Linked DNA regions of Homo sapiens: region 2 is linked to region 1. The links are contacts of gene promoters, found by promoter capture Hi-C in blood cells and fetal thymus (Javierre and others, 2016). All regions are on one chromosome and are shown on one strand. Each heading gives the region's core, a stretch centred on a gene start or on the middle of the fragment in contact. The rest is flanking DNA. Distances are from core to core; before and after follow the strand shown. Region 1 holds the start of NCOR1 (nuclear receptor corepressor 1). Region 2 overlaps PIGL (phosphatidylinositol glycan anchor biosynthesis class L).

Region 1 (7,323 bases), core at 1,667-4,166:
AATACAATTAAAACCAAATAACCAAAACATATTTTTTAAAAAACAAACAGCCTGACACTCACCTACATCAACCCCCAGTCTATCCAAAGGCCTTTGCCTTCTACAGCAGATAACAAAGGTAAGAAAAGAAAATTTCACCAATTCATAACACAATTTTTTTTAATGCTTTTAAGGCCGGGTGCAGTGGCTCACCCCTATCATCCTAGCACTTTGGGAGGCTGAGACAGGCAGATCGCTTGAGCCCAGGAGCTCGAGACCAGCCTAGACAACATGGTCAAACCCTTTCTCTACAAACAAAAAAAAAAATTAACCAGGCGTGGTGGCCTGTGCCTGTAGTCCCAGCGACTTGGGAGGCTGAGGTGGAAGGATCACCTGAGTCCAGAGGTCAAGGCTGCAGCGAGCCACTGTATTTCAGCCTGGGCAAAAGAGACCCTGTCTCCAAAAAAAAAAAAAAAAAGCTTTAAAAAAGTTATTAACTAATCTAATCTTTCCTATAAGTTAATTTCCATCATTTCATTCTTTTTTGATTAAGAGGATAGGCAAAACACAAATTTTACTGTTTTTTAAATCCAACAAGTATTCAATTAAAAATAAGCCAGGCACGGTGGCTCACGCCTGTAATCCCAGCACTTTGGGAGGCCAAGGCAGGCGGATCACGAGGTCAGGAGATTGAGACCATCCTGGCTAACACGGTGAAACCCCGTCTCTACTCAAAGTACAAAAAAATTAGCCAGGCATGGTGGCACGCGCCTGTAGTCCCAGCTACTCGGGAGGCTGAGGCAGAAGAATTGCTTGAACCCGGAGGCGGAGGTTGCAATGAGCTGAGATTGCGCCACTGCACTCCAGCCTGGGTGACAGAGCAAGACTGTCTCAAAAAAAAAAAAAAAAAAAAGATAAAATCAGCGAAGGGCCTATCCTGCTCTCAAGAGATAAAATAGGTACATAAATACCTACAAGATAGAAAGTGTAAATGCCGCGAGAGATGTGCAGAAAAAGCATTACAGGAGCCCAGAGGGAGCTGTTACCACCTCACAGAAATATAACCCCTTCAATCTGTTTAAAACAATTTTATAACTATTAACTCCCTTTAGGCTCACAACAGCCAACCCTAGGAGAGTAGATGTTTACCTAATATTCAAGATGAGGAAACTGAAGCACAGAAAGGTTGATCAAGTTCCAAAATCACATAGTTAGAGCAAGAATCAAGATACTTTGTATTATATTTTCTCCGGGGGAGTAGTTCAACATATGGCAAGCCTTTTGTAAAAGGAAAGAGTATTTTAGTATTGTAAGTAATCAGTTCCTACTGTGAGCATTTTATACATAGCTATATCCATATATACAATTAATCTTGATTTCCATTAACAGGTGTGCTTAAAGCAAGGCCAAGCAACTGGGTACTATAAATATTAAAACAAATAAATAAACTTCCACCGGATGTTAACAGAAAAAGAAAAAAAGATACAAGATTTCTCTCTCCAGTAACTTGCGGTTACTTCTTCTGTAATTGTTACCCTTGTCTAAATAACATTCTAAAATTGGTCTGCTCCTGAGCCCGGGCAAGTACAAGTTGGTTCATCCAATAAATATCTTCATGAAAAGGTACATCAAAACATTTTAAAAAGCTATTAAAAATTAAACGATGCCATCAACTCTTCAGTTATCCACAGGACAATCACATGTGACCCAGCATCAGCAGCTATTGATCAAGATATATTGAACGAATGAATGAATCTTTGTAGGCATTTTTAAATCCCGGGCCTGTTGCTCCTTGCACAGTGCCATGTTCAGCCTTCCATCACTGCCTCACCAGGGTGCACACAAGGAATGTAAATTTCAATATAATTAGGATATAATTAGAGAAGCAAATCTGATGCAGGTTTACATACTAATCCCAAAGATTAGAATTACCTATACTACTACTCTCCAAGGTTAACTCTGTGGAAGAGGCACCGCAGCATGCAACATCACATAAAGAAAACTGACACTTCCTGAGCAAATAGTTTTCGTCCATATCACTTATTCCCATCCATTCCTTTAATACATGACTATTCCTGATCCAGTTAATTTGAAGAATTCAGTCTCCTCTCCATAAAGGCTGATTTCACAACTACAGTTTCTCAAATTCCTCTCTCCCCAAAAAGGGGTGCACTTACGGACTTCGCTTAAGAAAACACCAACAATAAACGGCAGAAGGTATAGTGTTCGGATCTTTGCCATCTCCACCAGTACCCAGCCTTCGCCATTACACCCTGAAGCGGTCTGTTAGAAAGGTGAACTAATTTACTCTGCACGCACTTGTCCATGGCTGTCAACCTCCGCAGCCCCTTCTACACTTCCAAGTCGGCCACCAACTCCGCCTCAGTGAGCCCAGGCCCGCCACCTGCGCCGGCCCCACCCGGGGCACCGGCTGCCCGCTCTCCCTCGCAGGCCCTGTAGGCTCCGCACGCCCCTCCGCACAGGACACCTCGGGGCCAGCCCCGGCCCGGCCACAGCCCATTCTTCCTCCAAACTCCATAAGCCTCCGCTAGCCCAGCCCGAGCTCCCCGCCGCGCCCGGCTCTCTCCTGGGCTGCCGAGTGGAAGAGGCCAGGCGGCCAGGACGGGTCCCGACCTGCCCAGGCCTGCGACACCCCCCGCCCGGCGGAGAAACCGTCCCAGCGGCTGCTGCCCCGGGAGCCCTCGGAAGCCCCCGGACTAGCAGGAGCCCGGAGGCCGGGGTTGCAGGCGCCAGGGCCTACTCACCGGGAGCTGGCTAAGCGTGGGAGCCGACGTGCGCCCCGGCCTGAGGAGTGGGACGCGGCCACGGCGCGCGGCCCTACACCGGGACCTCGTTCGGCGCGGCGAGTCGGACGCTCACTCCAGCCGCCGCCGCCGCCGCGGCTGCTGCTTCGCCACCTTGGCCGCCATCTTGACTCAACCCCTCTCCCTCCCCCCAGCCCGCGGAGCCGCGGCTAAGGCGGCTCCAGCGCCGGCTCCTCCTCCTTCCGGAGAGTTGGGAGACCAACTCCCTCCGCTGGCCGGGCGCCTCTCCTACCTCGGCGGAGCTTCCCGGGTCGCGCTGCGCCCGGTCTCTTCATGTCTCCTCTAGGCCTGGCAGCGGCGGTCCTCTCGGACGGATACGGGGCCGAGCAGCGCCCAGCCGGATCCAGCGCTGCTGCCATCGTGCCCTGGGCTTGTGCGCCCCCCGCCTGCCCGTCTGTTCCGCGCGCCCGAGGCCTTCCTCAGGCGTGGGAAAAGGAAAAACTCCAGGCCGTGGAAGGGACCCTGCAAACCCCTCCGCGGCGTGGTGGGGCGGCGGCGGCCTCCTCTGGCCGGAGCTGCGTACAGGGAAGCCGGTCCCCTCGTGGCTGGGAGCTGGAGGGGTGCATTTCGACCTGCCCAAGATACTTTCTAGGGCTCTGGCTGGAATTCGCACCAAGCCCTCACTGAAATGCTGGGCGAGGCCGATTTGTCCACGATGTTGCTCCTTAACCTTAAGTTACTTGCAAGAGGAGCCTGTGGCCCTCGCGACTGTTAAGTGCACGCTCAGCCTCACCCTGCTGGGGAAACGACGGTTCCTCGTAACCGCACGCATACGTTCCTTTAGAAAAGCCAGGCCCGACCGGACGCAGTGGGTCACGCTTGTAATCCCAGCACTTAGGGAGGCCGAGGCGGGCCATCACTTAAGGTCAGGAGTTCGAGACCAGCCTGACGAACATGGAGAAACCCCGTCACTACTAAAAATACAAAAATTAAGCGGGCGTGGTGGCGCGCGCCAGTAATCCCAGCTACTGGGGAGACCGAAGTGGGAGAATTGCTTGAACGCGGGAGGCTGAGGTAGCAGCGAACCTAGGTCGCGCCACTGCACTCCAGCCTGGGCGACGGAGCCAGACCGTTTCAAAAAAAAAAAAGAAAGGGCCGGGCGCGGTGGCTCAGGCCTGTAATCCCAGCACTTTGGGAGGCCGAGGCGAGCGGATCACGAAGTCAGGAGTTCGAGACCAGCCTAGTTAACATGGTGAAACCCCCTCTCTACTAAAAATACAAAAATTAGCTGGGCGTGGTGGCGCGCGCCTATAGTCCCAGCTACTCGGGAGGCTGAGGCAGAAGAGTCGCTTGAACCCGGGAGACAGAGGTTGCAGTGAGCCGAGATCGCTCCACTGCACTCCAGCCTGGGCGACAGAGCCTCTCAAAAAAAAAAAAAAAGGTAAAGAAAGCCATCCAAAAGTGAGAAGGAATAACAAAGTTGGTGTAACTGGCTATTTTGGAAAACTGTCATACGGATAACGGGCTGTCTAACCCTATAATTACGAGAAAGGCCCGAGTTTTAAGAAATGAATTCGAAAATGAAGAGGAAGGAACTCTTCCTATAAGTGGGAGCTTATATATAAGACGCTTCCTTTTAAACCGATTGTACAGTGTGGTAGGACTAGGGTAGGAAACTGGACGGCATGGAGACTTCTGTGTTAAAACACAAGAGAACCCTTAACGTTAAAACCTCAAGCTTCCGGAGCATGTCGGCGGGAGGGACTTAACAGCGGAACCCAACATTCCCCGGTGAAGTTTTCCAGCCGGAGTCAGGGTCAGAGGCAGCCTTTCCTACTGCGCAGGCTCAGTGCTGCTTACCCATCATGGAAGCAATGTGGCTCCTGTGTGTGGCGTTGGCGGTCTTGGCATGGGGCTTCCTCTGGGTTTGGGACTCCTCAGAACGAATGAAGAGTCGGGAGCAGGGAGGACGGCTGGGAGCCGAAAGCCGGACCCTGCTGGTCATAGCGCACCCTGACGATGAAGCCATGTTTTTTGCTCCCACAGTGCTAGGCTTGGCCCGCCTAAGGCACTGGGTGTACCTGCTTTGCTTCTCTGCAGGTAGGAGGCCATAGGAGGGGCGATGGGAGCCGGGGCTTTGAAAGGGATTTAAGTGCTAACCGATCTCAGTCGCCTTCTTCTCGAAGTTTTCCGTAGGGAGCTAAGTGAATACACCGAAGGTCTTACCTCTGAACCCCTCACAGCCTAGGGACAGGAGCGGCCGGCTTACCTGGTGGGTTGGGGGACGTCGGCAGCTCGCGTACTACGCCAGCAGGATTGAGGAGCAGAGAAACAGTTGCAGTTGGTTGTATTCAGTACCTGCATTTCCGTTGGGAACTCCACCTGTACTTGTTATTCTGTGGAACTTTTTTTTATTTGTAGAAGGAGCAAGAATATTGACCTTACTATATAGCACACGAAACAATCTATGCTGTATCGTGCCTGCTCAATCCTTAAAGTTAACTTCTAATGATAGTAAAAGACCTTCCTGCTGCCTTTAAAATGCAGCTTGTGCTAGTAACATGCATGTGTCAAATTGAAGAATTAGACATAGATGACTAGATAGAAAGTAATTTTGTAGGTAATTTTAGAGTTCAACTCCACCCAGCTTTCAGTGAAGGAACCTTTCAAATAATAGATTTTTGCTTACCATAGAGAAAAGATCAAATGACAAAGCAAATATTGACCATTAAGCTGGAATATGGTGATAATTGAACAGTTGTATAAATGAAGTAATTGAATTGTACACATACAATGGGTGAATTTTATGGCATGTCAAAGTATACCTCAATAAAGCTATTTTTTTAAATTGCCCATGACCTCTTTTCCCATTTGTTTGTGTGTCTTTCCAATTCTTTTTCTATACAGCTTCTTCACAGAAATCACATTTTATAAAATTTTATATCGTTTTTACTCGACATTACTTTTTCATTTATTTACCAAATACTTATTAAACATTTATGTGCTAGGCCTTATTCTATGCCCTAGGGATACAAAAGTGGAAAGCTAGATAAGAGCAGTGTCCTCATGAAACTTTAAACATCTACCTATATTAATTAGATCTAAATGTATAGCCTGTTAAATGGCTTCATCGGGATAAACCTTAATCATCCCTTATTGTTTGTACATTCAGAGGGTTTTTTCCTAGTTTATTGCAAAGAGCAGAGAACATCTTTATGTATTTTATATTATTTCATGAGTATTAATTTTTAAAATTGGCTGTTTTTAGGCTTTGCATTGCAAAACACATTCCCAAAAACAAAATGCCAACTTACTCTTTTTTTTTTTTTTTTTTTCTGAGATAGTCTCGCTCTGTTGCCCAGGCTGGAGTGCCGTGGCGTGATCTCGGCTCACTGCAACCTCCACCACCCGGGTTCAAGTGATTCTCCTGCGTCAGCCTGCCAAGTAGCTGGGTTTACAAGCGCATGCCACCACACCTGGCTAATTTTTGTATTTTTAGTAGAGATGAGGTTTCACCATGTTAGCCAGGCTGGTCTCAAACTCCTGACCTCTAGTGATCCACCTGCCTTGGCCTCCCAAAGTGCTTGGGATTACAAGTGTGAGCCACCATGCCTGGCCTACCTATTTACATTCTTACTGGCACTAATGAGAGTATCTGTCTTAATATACTACTTTCTGTAGCATTGACTGACATTTTTTATAAATTTTTTTTTTTTTTTTTTTGAGACGGAGTCTTGCTCTATCGCCTAGGCTGGAGTGCAGTGGCGCAATCTCGGCTCACTGTAAGTTCTGCCTCCTGGGTTCACGCCCTTCTTTCTGGGACTACAGGCGCCCGCCCGCCACCATGCCCAGCTAATTTTTTTATTTGTTTTTAGTTTTTAGTAGAGACGGGGTTTCACTGTGTTAGCCAGGATGGTCTTGATCTCCTGAACTTTTGATCTGCCCGCCTCAGCCTCCCAAAGTGCTGGGATTACAGGCGTAAGCCACCACACCTGGCCATTTTTTATAAATTTCTTAATTTGTTTAGTATCTTCTCCCCCAAAAACCTTTGTTACCAGTAAAAGTAAACCATTTTACATATTTATTAAGAATTGGAGCCCAAGCACTTTTCTTCTAAAATTTATGCTCTGTTAAGAATATTAATTGCAAATAGTTACAAGTAATGCCACCATTTTTTCTTAGCTTCTAGGTTTGGTGGGGGGTTTTTTGTTTAGTTTTCTTTTTGAGATGGAGTCTCACTCTGTCACCCAGGCTGGAGTGCAGGGGCGCAATCTCAGTTCACTGCAACCTACGCCTCCTGAGTTTAAGCAATTCTCTTACCTCAGCCTCTCGAGTAGCTGGGACTACAGTGTGCACCACATGTTGGGCTAATTTTTGTATTTTTGGTAGAGCTGAGGTTTTGCTGGGATAGCCAGGCTAGTCTCGAACTCCTGACAAGTGATCCACCCACCTCGGCCTCCCAAAGTGCTGGGATTACAGGTGTGAGCCACCACACCCGGCTGGCCAGCTTTTAGTTGTATTTGTATTTTATATTACAACTATAGGAGTCAAATTATAAGCAAATTTGTTACAAGGTCTT
Region 2 (7,323 bases), core at 3,128-5,627, 59 kb after region 1:
GTAATCTCAGCACTTTGGGAGGCCGAGGCGGGCAGATCACCTGAGGTCAGGAGTTCGAGACCAGCCTGCCCAACATCTGCGAAATGCTGTCTCTACTAAAAATACAAAAAATTAGCTGGGCATGGTGGTGGGCACCTGTAATCCCAGCTACTCAGGAGGCTGAGGCAGGAGAATTGCTTGAACCCAGGAGGCGGAGGTTGCAGTGAGCCGAGCTTGCACCACTGCACTCCAGCCTGGGTGACAAGAGCGAAACTCCATGTCAAAAAAAAAAAAAATTCTAATCAGATGCCAGTCTCACTGTCATTCTCCAATCTTCCCACTATAACATATTTAGTTCATTGTCCTGCCCGTGTTCTAATTTTGCAGTTTTCCTAGACTGATCCTCTGTGATCCAACAATTAATTATAAATTATTAATTATAAATTAATTAATTATAAATTAATAAAAATTGTGATCCCACAATTAATTTCAAATTTATTAAATAGAACCTGAGAAAAAATTATGCAGTATTTTTTTCATTAGATGATTGTCAGCCTCCTACCAACAAGCATATGCTAGATGTTACCCATGAAAACTTAAGTAGTCAGGCCAGGCACAGTGGCTCACGCCTGTAATCCCAGCACTTTAGGAGATTGAGGTAGGCGGATCACCTGAGGCTAGGAGTTTGAGACCAGCCTGGCCGACATGGTGAAACCCCATCTCTACTAAAAATACAAAAATTAGCCGGGTGTGGTGGCGGGCACCTGTAATCCCAGCTACTCGGGAGGCTGAGGAGAATCACTTGAACCCGGGAGGCAGAGGTTGCAGTGAGCCGAGATCGCGCAACTGCATTCCAGCCTGTGCGACAGAGCGAGACTGTCTCAAAAAAAAAAAAAGAGAAAAGGAAAAGTAGTCATGATCCCTCCCTTGGACTCATTTCCAGTGTAAAGGTTATTAACCTTTTTGTAATTGGGATGTATTATGAATGACTGCTCAATTCAACAATGTACCTTTTTCCTCAGTAATTCCTAAAGAAGTCATAGAATGTATGTATTTCTTTATTGAATAAAGTCTATTAAAATTATTGTGATTCTAAGGCATCTTAGGGAATTTCATTATGTCTCCTAAAGCTAGACTCAAAAATAGAATTAGGAATTATTCTTCTTTAGCAACCTTCATTATGTCTCTTAAAGCTAGACTCAAAAATATAATTAGGAATTATTCTTCTGTAGCAACCTCAAGCAGTCCAGGATCAGTCCTCAGCTCCACCTTTTGTGACAGTGGGCAGGCACATTCATGCTCTGACCCTCAGGCTTCTCTTCATCAAATAGGAGCCTTGTGTTAGATTATCTCTGAGGTTTTTTCACAACTAGCATTTTGTGGTTCAATAAACAGAATAATTGTCCTGCAAATAGGTACGTACCCTAAATAGGGTTACAGATAAAATACAAAGTGCCTAACTAAATTTTAGTTTCAGATAAACAATAATTTTTTAATGTTAAGTGTGTCCCAAATTTCACATAGAACACTTTTTTTTTTTTTGAGATGGAGTTTTGCTCTGTCGCCCATGCTGGAGTGCAGTGGTGCAATCTTGGCTTACCGCAACCTCCACCTCCTGGGTTCAAGCAATTCTTCTGCCTCAGCCTCCTGAGTAGCTGGGACTACAGGCGCACACCACCACACCCAGCTAATTTTTGTATTTTTAGTAGAGATGGGGTTTCACCATATTGGCCAGGCTGGTCTCAAACTCCTGACCTCATGGTCTGCCCGCCTCAGCCTCCCAAAGTGCTGGGATTACAGGCGTGAACCACTGTGCCCGGCCAGAACATAATTATACTAAAAAATTATTCACTTGTTTATCTGAAATTCAAATTTTATTTTATTTTATTTTCATTATTTTTTGAGACATAGTTTCCTCTGTCTCCCAGGCTGGTTTCAAACTCCTGGCCTCAAGCAATCTTCCCACCTTGGCCCCCGCAAAGCACTGTGATTATAAGTATGAGCCTCCATCCATGCCCAGCTTAAAATCAAATTTTAACTGGCATCTGCTATTGGCAACCCTAACCCCAAAGCCATTGCTTTTTATCCCATTTTGTGAAAGTCAGTGTCACTATTTCCCTACTGTGAGCTTGCTTATTTCTGCCTTTTATCCTTAGCCTGAAACAAGTTGTGAATATCAAATTTCCACTCACTCCATTGCTTTACCTATGAAATAAATTCCCAGAACTTAGAATAGTTAACAGCAATCTGTTTCCTAGAACTAGCTGCCAGGACTACACCTGGACATCTGTTATTTACAGCCTCATTATTGACATTTTGTCAATAGTTCTGACCTATGCCATGTAATCTGTTATAGTCATAGCATGCCTTCCTGGAAATTTTCATTTGCCTCTATTCCTATTGTATTATTTGGGTTCTTTCCATATTTGTTTGTTCAAGATTCTCTCATCATTAAAAACAAATAAACAAAAACCTCTACTTAACCCTCCTCATCCCATTACTGCTCTACTTCTCTTCCTTCATAACCAAGTATTATCTACATGCATTGTCTTCACATCCTGTTATTAATTCCCCAATGCATTAAATTCTGGCTCATCGTCCTACTACTTCTCGCTGCCATTGAAGCTCCTCTTTCCAGAGTCACTGGTTACTTCCTATTTGTGAAATCAGTAGGAAGCTTTTCAGTCCCAGTCCTACTGGACCTCTCAGCAGCTCTGGCCAATGCTGACCACTCCCCCAATCCAGAAACCACTCTTGGCTTCTGTAACAGTCCCTGGCTCCAGCTGTCCTCCTACCTCCTTACTTCCCTGGCCACTTGGGTCGGTCACCTTCAGCCATTCTTGTCATCTGCCTGGTCCTCTATGATTCTCAGTGTTCGATGCACACTCTGTAGTTGTGATTGAGGTATTTACAAAAAACTGGTGCCCCACTGAGCCAGGTTCACGTGGAAGTTGGGATGAAACAGGATTCTGAGAGGACATGGGAGGAACATGGGTTTCACTTTGTTTCTTTATTAATCTTTGAAATGTGTTTGTTTATTCATTTAGCACTCATTTTTTGAGCATATACTATATCTCAAATATCAGGTCCTAGGAGTACAAAATGGCAAGTCAAGTCCTTGCCCTCAAGGAGCTTGCAGTCTAGGAAAAGCCAACAAACCAACTAATGATGTGAGGACAGCACACAAAGGTACCATGGACTCAGATGCAGGAGCCAGGAAAGACACTAGAGACAGGTTGCCTGTGATCTGAGCTTTAAGAGACAAGTAGGAATTAGCCAGGTGCATTCCATATGAGTTCTTCCAGATAGCTGGAGTCCACATGCCTGAGGGAATATGACAGAAGATCAAGTGAGGGAGCCAGGCAAATGCCAGATCACAAAGACCATGTGTCAGGTGAAGGTTATGGAATTGAAATGTCTTAAAACTATAAGGAGCTTTGAAGTACGTCAAAATGGGCAATAAATTGATCTGATTTTCATTTTAGAAAGACTTCTTTTGACAACACTGTGGAAAGCAGCTTGGGAAGGGGGCTCCAGACTTGGTGCAGTGGAACCAATAGGTATGGTCACGTGAGAAATCAGAGTCAGAAAAAAAAGCAGTGGCAGGGGAAATTGAGAGGAGATAGTTTCTAGTGCTGCTACAGAGGTAGCTATTCTAAGGCTTGATGACCAATTGGTTGTCAAAGATAAGAGGGAGGAAAAAAAACAAAGGGTCTCCCAGATGTGTGCATTTAGTGACTGCATAATGCATCACCTCCACTAAATGATTCATCTGTTCTTCATCCCTGTTAGTCTGGACACCAAAAATATCACTCTGCCTAAAGGGGGGAAACATTTCTTTGAGGGAAAACCCTTTTGCCCTATAGCTAAACTAAGCCATTGGAAACTTTTTAGGGCAGAAATGTCAGAGGCATGAACAGGGCTTCTGGAGGAGGGTGAGGTCTCCAGGTTCTCCTGGCTAGTGAAGAGGCTCATGTTCTCATTAGCAAACTGATGGCCTCCATCGATGGCCGTGATACTCACAGGGCGTGGTTCAAAGCCCCAGATCATCAGGGCTTCTAGAGTCTACTTAATCAGGACAGGCATTTATTTAAAGTGCTCTGAAGCTAACTGTCACAAATAGGGAACCTTAGTACTGGTCAGTTGGGAACCAAGGTTATTACCAAGAAGATAGTGTCAGGTGTCAAGTGTGGAAGTCAGGACAAGGCCAGATGTAGGAGATAAGAGTGAAACCAGACGTGAGAAGGTTGGAGCGTGTAAAGGAAATGGGTCACAGGACAAGCAGTTCAGACCTGAGGCCAAGAAGAGGAAGGCAAGAGTTCTCTTGCGGATCTCAGCTAGAAAACATTGCTGTAGAACATAGGTCACTTTGTTTGTTTGTTTATTTATTTATTTATTTTAAGCAAAAGCAAGTTTATTAAGGAAGTAAAGGAGGCCGGGTGCGGTGACTCACACCTGTAATCCCAGCACTTTGGGAGGCCGAGGCGGGTGGATCACCTGAGGTCAGGAGTTCGAGATCAGCCTGGCCAACATGGTGAAACCTCGTCTCTACTAAAAATACTAAAATTAGCCGGGCGTGGTGGCAGCCACCTGTAATCTCAGCTACTTGGGAGGCTGAGGCAGGAGAATCGCTTGAACCCGGGAGGCAGAGGTTGCATTGAGCTGAGATAGCCCCATGGCACTCTAGCCTGGGGGACAAGAGCAAGACTACGTCTCAAAAAAAAAAAGAAAGTAAAGGGATAGGCCGGGCACTATGGCTCACTCCTGTAATATCAGCGTTTTAGGAGGCCGAGGGGGGCGGATCACCTAAGGTCAGGAGTTTGAGACCAGCCTGGCCAACATGGCAAAACCCCGTCTCTACTAAATATACAAAAATTAGCCGAGTGTGGTGGCTTGCGCCTGTAATCCTAGCTACTCAGGAGGCTGGGGCAGGAGAATGGCTGGAACCCGGGAGGCAGAGGCTGCAGTGAGCTGAGATCACACCACTGCACCCCAGCCTGGGCAACAGAGCAAGACTCCGTCTCAAAAAAAAAAAAAGAAAAGAAAGAAAGTAAAGGAATAAAGAATGGCTGTTCCACCGGCCAGCAAAGTGGGATGCTCCACTAAGGACACTTACAGTCATTTTCTGATTATACTCTAAACAAGGGCTGGCTTATTGAGTTTTCTGGGAAAGAGGTGGGCAATTCCCAGAACTGAGGGTTCCTCCCATTTTAGACCATAGAGCGTAACTTCCTGACGTTGCTATGGCATTTGTAAACTGTCAGTGGCACTGGTGGGAGTGTCTTTTAGCATGCTGATGCATTATAATTAGCGTATAATGAGCAATGAGAACCACCAGAGGTCACTTTCATTGCCATCTTGGTTTTGGTGGGATTTTGGTGGGATTTTTATTGCAGGTTGTTTTATCAGTAAGGTCTTTATGACGTGTATTTTGTGCTGACCTCCTATCTCATCCTATAAGTAAGAATGCTAACCTCCTGGGAATGCAACCCAGTAGGTCTCTGCCTTATTTTAGCCAGCCCCTATTCAAGATGGAATTGCTGTGGTTCAAATGCCTCTGACATATTTCACCCCTTCCTTTTATAAGAGAACCCTTAATCCTAAGGGCTGTAGAGGGATGAAGATCCATCTTCTGTGACTTCTTCAGGCTGAATAGGGGCAATGATATTACTGCCTATTAGGGTCTCTTGTATTTGGGGTAGAGAGGAGCTCTGTCAGAAAGTGTCAGTATGGAGGCTGGGTGCAGTGGCTTACACCTATAATCCCAGTGCTTTGGGAGGCCAAGGCAGGCAGATCACTTGACATCAGGAGCTCAAGACCAGCCTGGGCAACATGGTGAAACCCTGTCTCTACTACAAATATAAAAATTAGCCAGGTGTGGTGGTGGGTGCCTGTAATCACAGCTACTCAAGAGGCTGCGGCAGGAGAATCATTTGAACCCAGGAGGTGGAGTTTGCAGTGAGCCGAGATCAGGCCACTGCACTCCAGTCTGGGTGACAGAGTGAGACTCTGTCTCAAAAAAAGAGAAAGAAAGCGTCATTATGGTGAGGGCCATTTATAACTCTGACAAAAGGTGATATCTGAAAGATTAATAAGTGTTCAATTTAAGAAAACATTCAGTAAGCTTATCCTGCATTCCTACACAAAGAGTACAACAGCAACACATTCCACAATGGTAAAGCAAAATAAGTAAAATTATTCAAAGTAAACTAAATAAGAAGTCTTTCCATGAACTGGGCAATTGTTGAAACCAAGTTGATATGGGGTCACTAGCTTATTCCAATATGTGCCCAGAATTAGAATATTGATCCAGATTTTTACATTATCTATCCCTCTTGTTTCTTCTAAGTAGCAGCCAGAGATCACTGGTTGGTTCTCAGGAATAAGCAGTCAGTTTAAATTGCAGAAAAAAAACTTAAAAACTACTGATAAGACTAGACTCTGGCCGGGTGTGGTGGCTCACACCTATAATCCCAGCACTTTGGGAGGCCAAGGCGGGTGGATCACCTGAGGTCAAGAGTTTGAGACCAGCCTAGCCAACATGGCGAAACTCTGTCTCTATGAAAAGTACAAAAATTAACTGGGCAGGCGTGGTGGCGGGCACCTGTAATCCCAGATACTCAGGAGGCTGAGGCAGGAGAATCACTTGAACCTGGGAGGTGGAGGTTGCAGTAAGGCACAATTGTGCCACTGCACTCCAGCCTGGGTGACAAGAGTGAGACTCCATCTCAAAAAATAAAATAAAATAAAATGACTAGACTCTGATAACATGCGTACCATAGTTTTTGAAACATAACGTTTTTCTCTCCAGTCTCCCATTTTTACTAAAGACAAATCATGGTAACTGATTTGCTTTGTTATACTTGGCCTCATTATTTGTATAAAGTGCAGCAACAATAATTATTTTTCACATAGGCTTTTAAAATCAGCTTTGATGGAATTTTGTTCCTTAGAAGGAATCTCAGATAAGACTTTTTTAAAGCTGAGCCCAGCCATGGGTCTGTACCCTCAAATATCTATATGAGTTGGGTAAATTTCTCTCTTCTTGAGATCCCAAGATAACTTGGGGCTCCTGGACTTGTCATAAAGTGACATTCTTTACTTACCACAGGTCAAGAACCCTGTACAGGGACTACGTAGACAATGTATGAGGCCAGTTTTCCTAAGGGGCTTTTATTGGCACTGTAAGTCAAGTTTGATTCCTTAAAGGAAAGAGTGTCATTCCAGTCAAAGCCTTGGTGAAAAAAAAGTTTCTCCAATTGTGTTCTGATACAAAAGAAAACATTCTTATTGCATTTATGCAAATAATTATATTGCCATAAGTTAAAAATGCTCACAAATGGT

What was found. The method cuts DNA at HindIII sites, captures the fragments that hold promoters and counts their contacts. A CHiCAGO score of 5 or more calls a contact.
Region 2: a fragment that was not itself captured here is called in contact with the fragment with the promoter of NCOR1 in region 1 in 1 of 17 cell types (M2 macrophages); the score reaches 7.0 in M2 macrophages.

The regions. Positions count from the first base shown.
Region 1 is chr17:16,212,618-16,219,940 of GRCh38, forward strand. It overlaps NCOR1 (nuclear receptor corepressor 1), which reads right to left and starts at 2,917. Exons shown (of 46, transcript NM_006311.4): 1 at 2,745-2,917. It overlaps PIGL (phosphatidylinositol glycan anchor biosynthesis class L), which reads left to right and starts at 4,593. Exons shown (of 7, transcript NM_004278.4): 1 at 4,593-4,844. The coding sequence starts at 4,610. RefSeq lists enhancers at 1,713-2,629, 2,630-3,545, 3,123-3,182, 4,369-4,618 and a silencer at 2,383-2,852. The HindIII fragment of the contact is 4,024 bases long and covers 457-4,480 here.
Region 2 is chr17:16,270,029-16,277,351 of GRCh38, forward strand. All of the region lies in intron 2 of PIGL (phosphatidylinositol glycan anchor biosynthesis class L), which reads left to right. Among named protein-coding and RNA genes, the nearest start is that of MIR1288, 8.3 kb to the right of the region's middle. The HindIII fragment of the contact is 3,447 bases long and covers 2,655-6,101 here.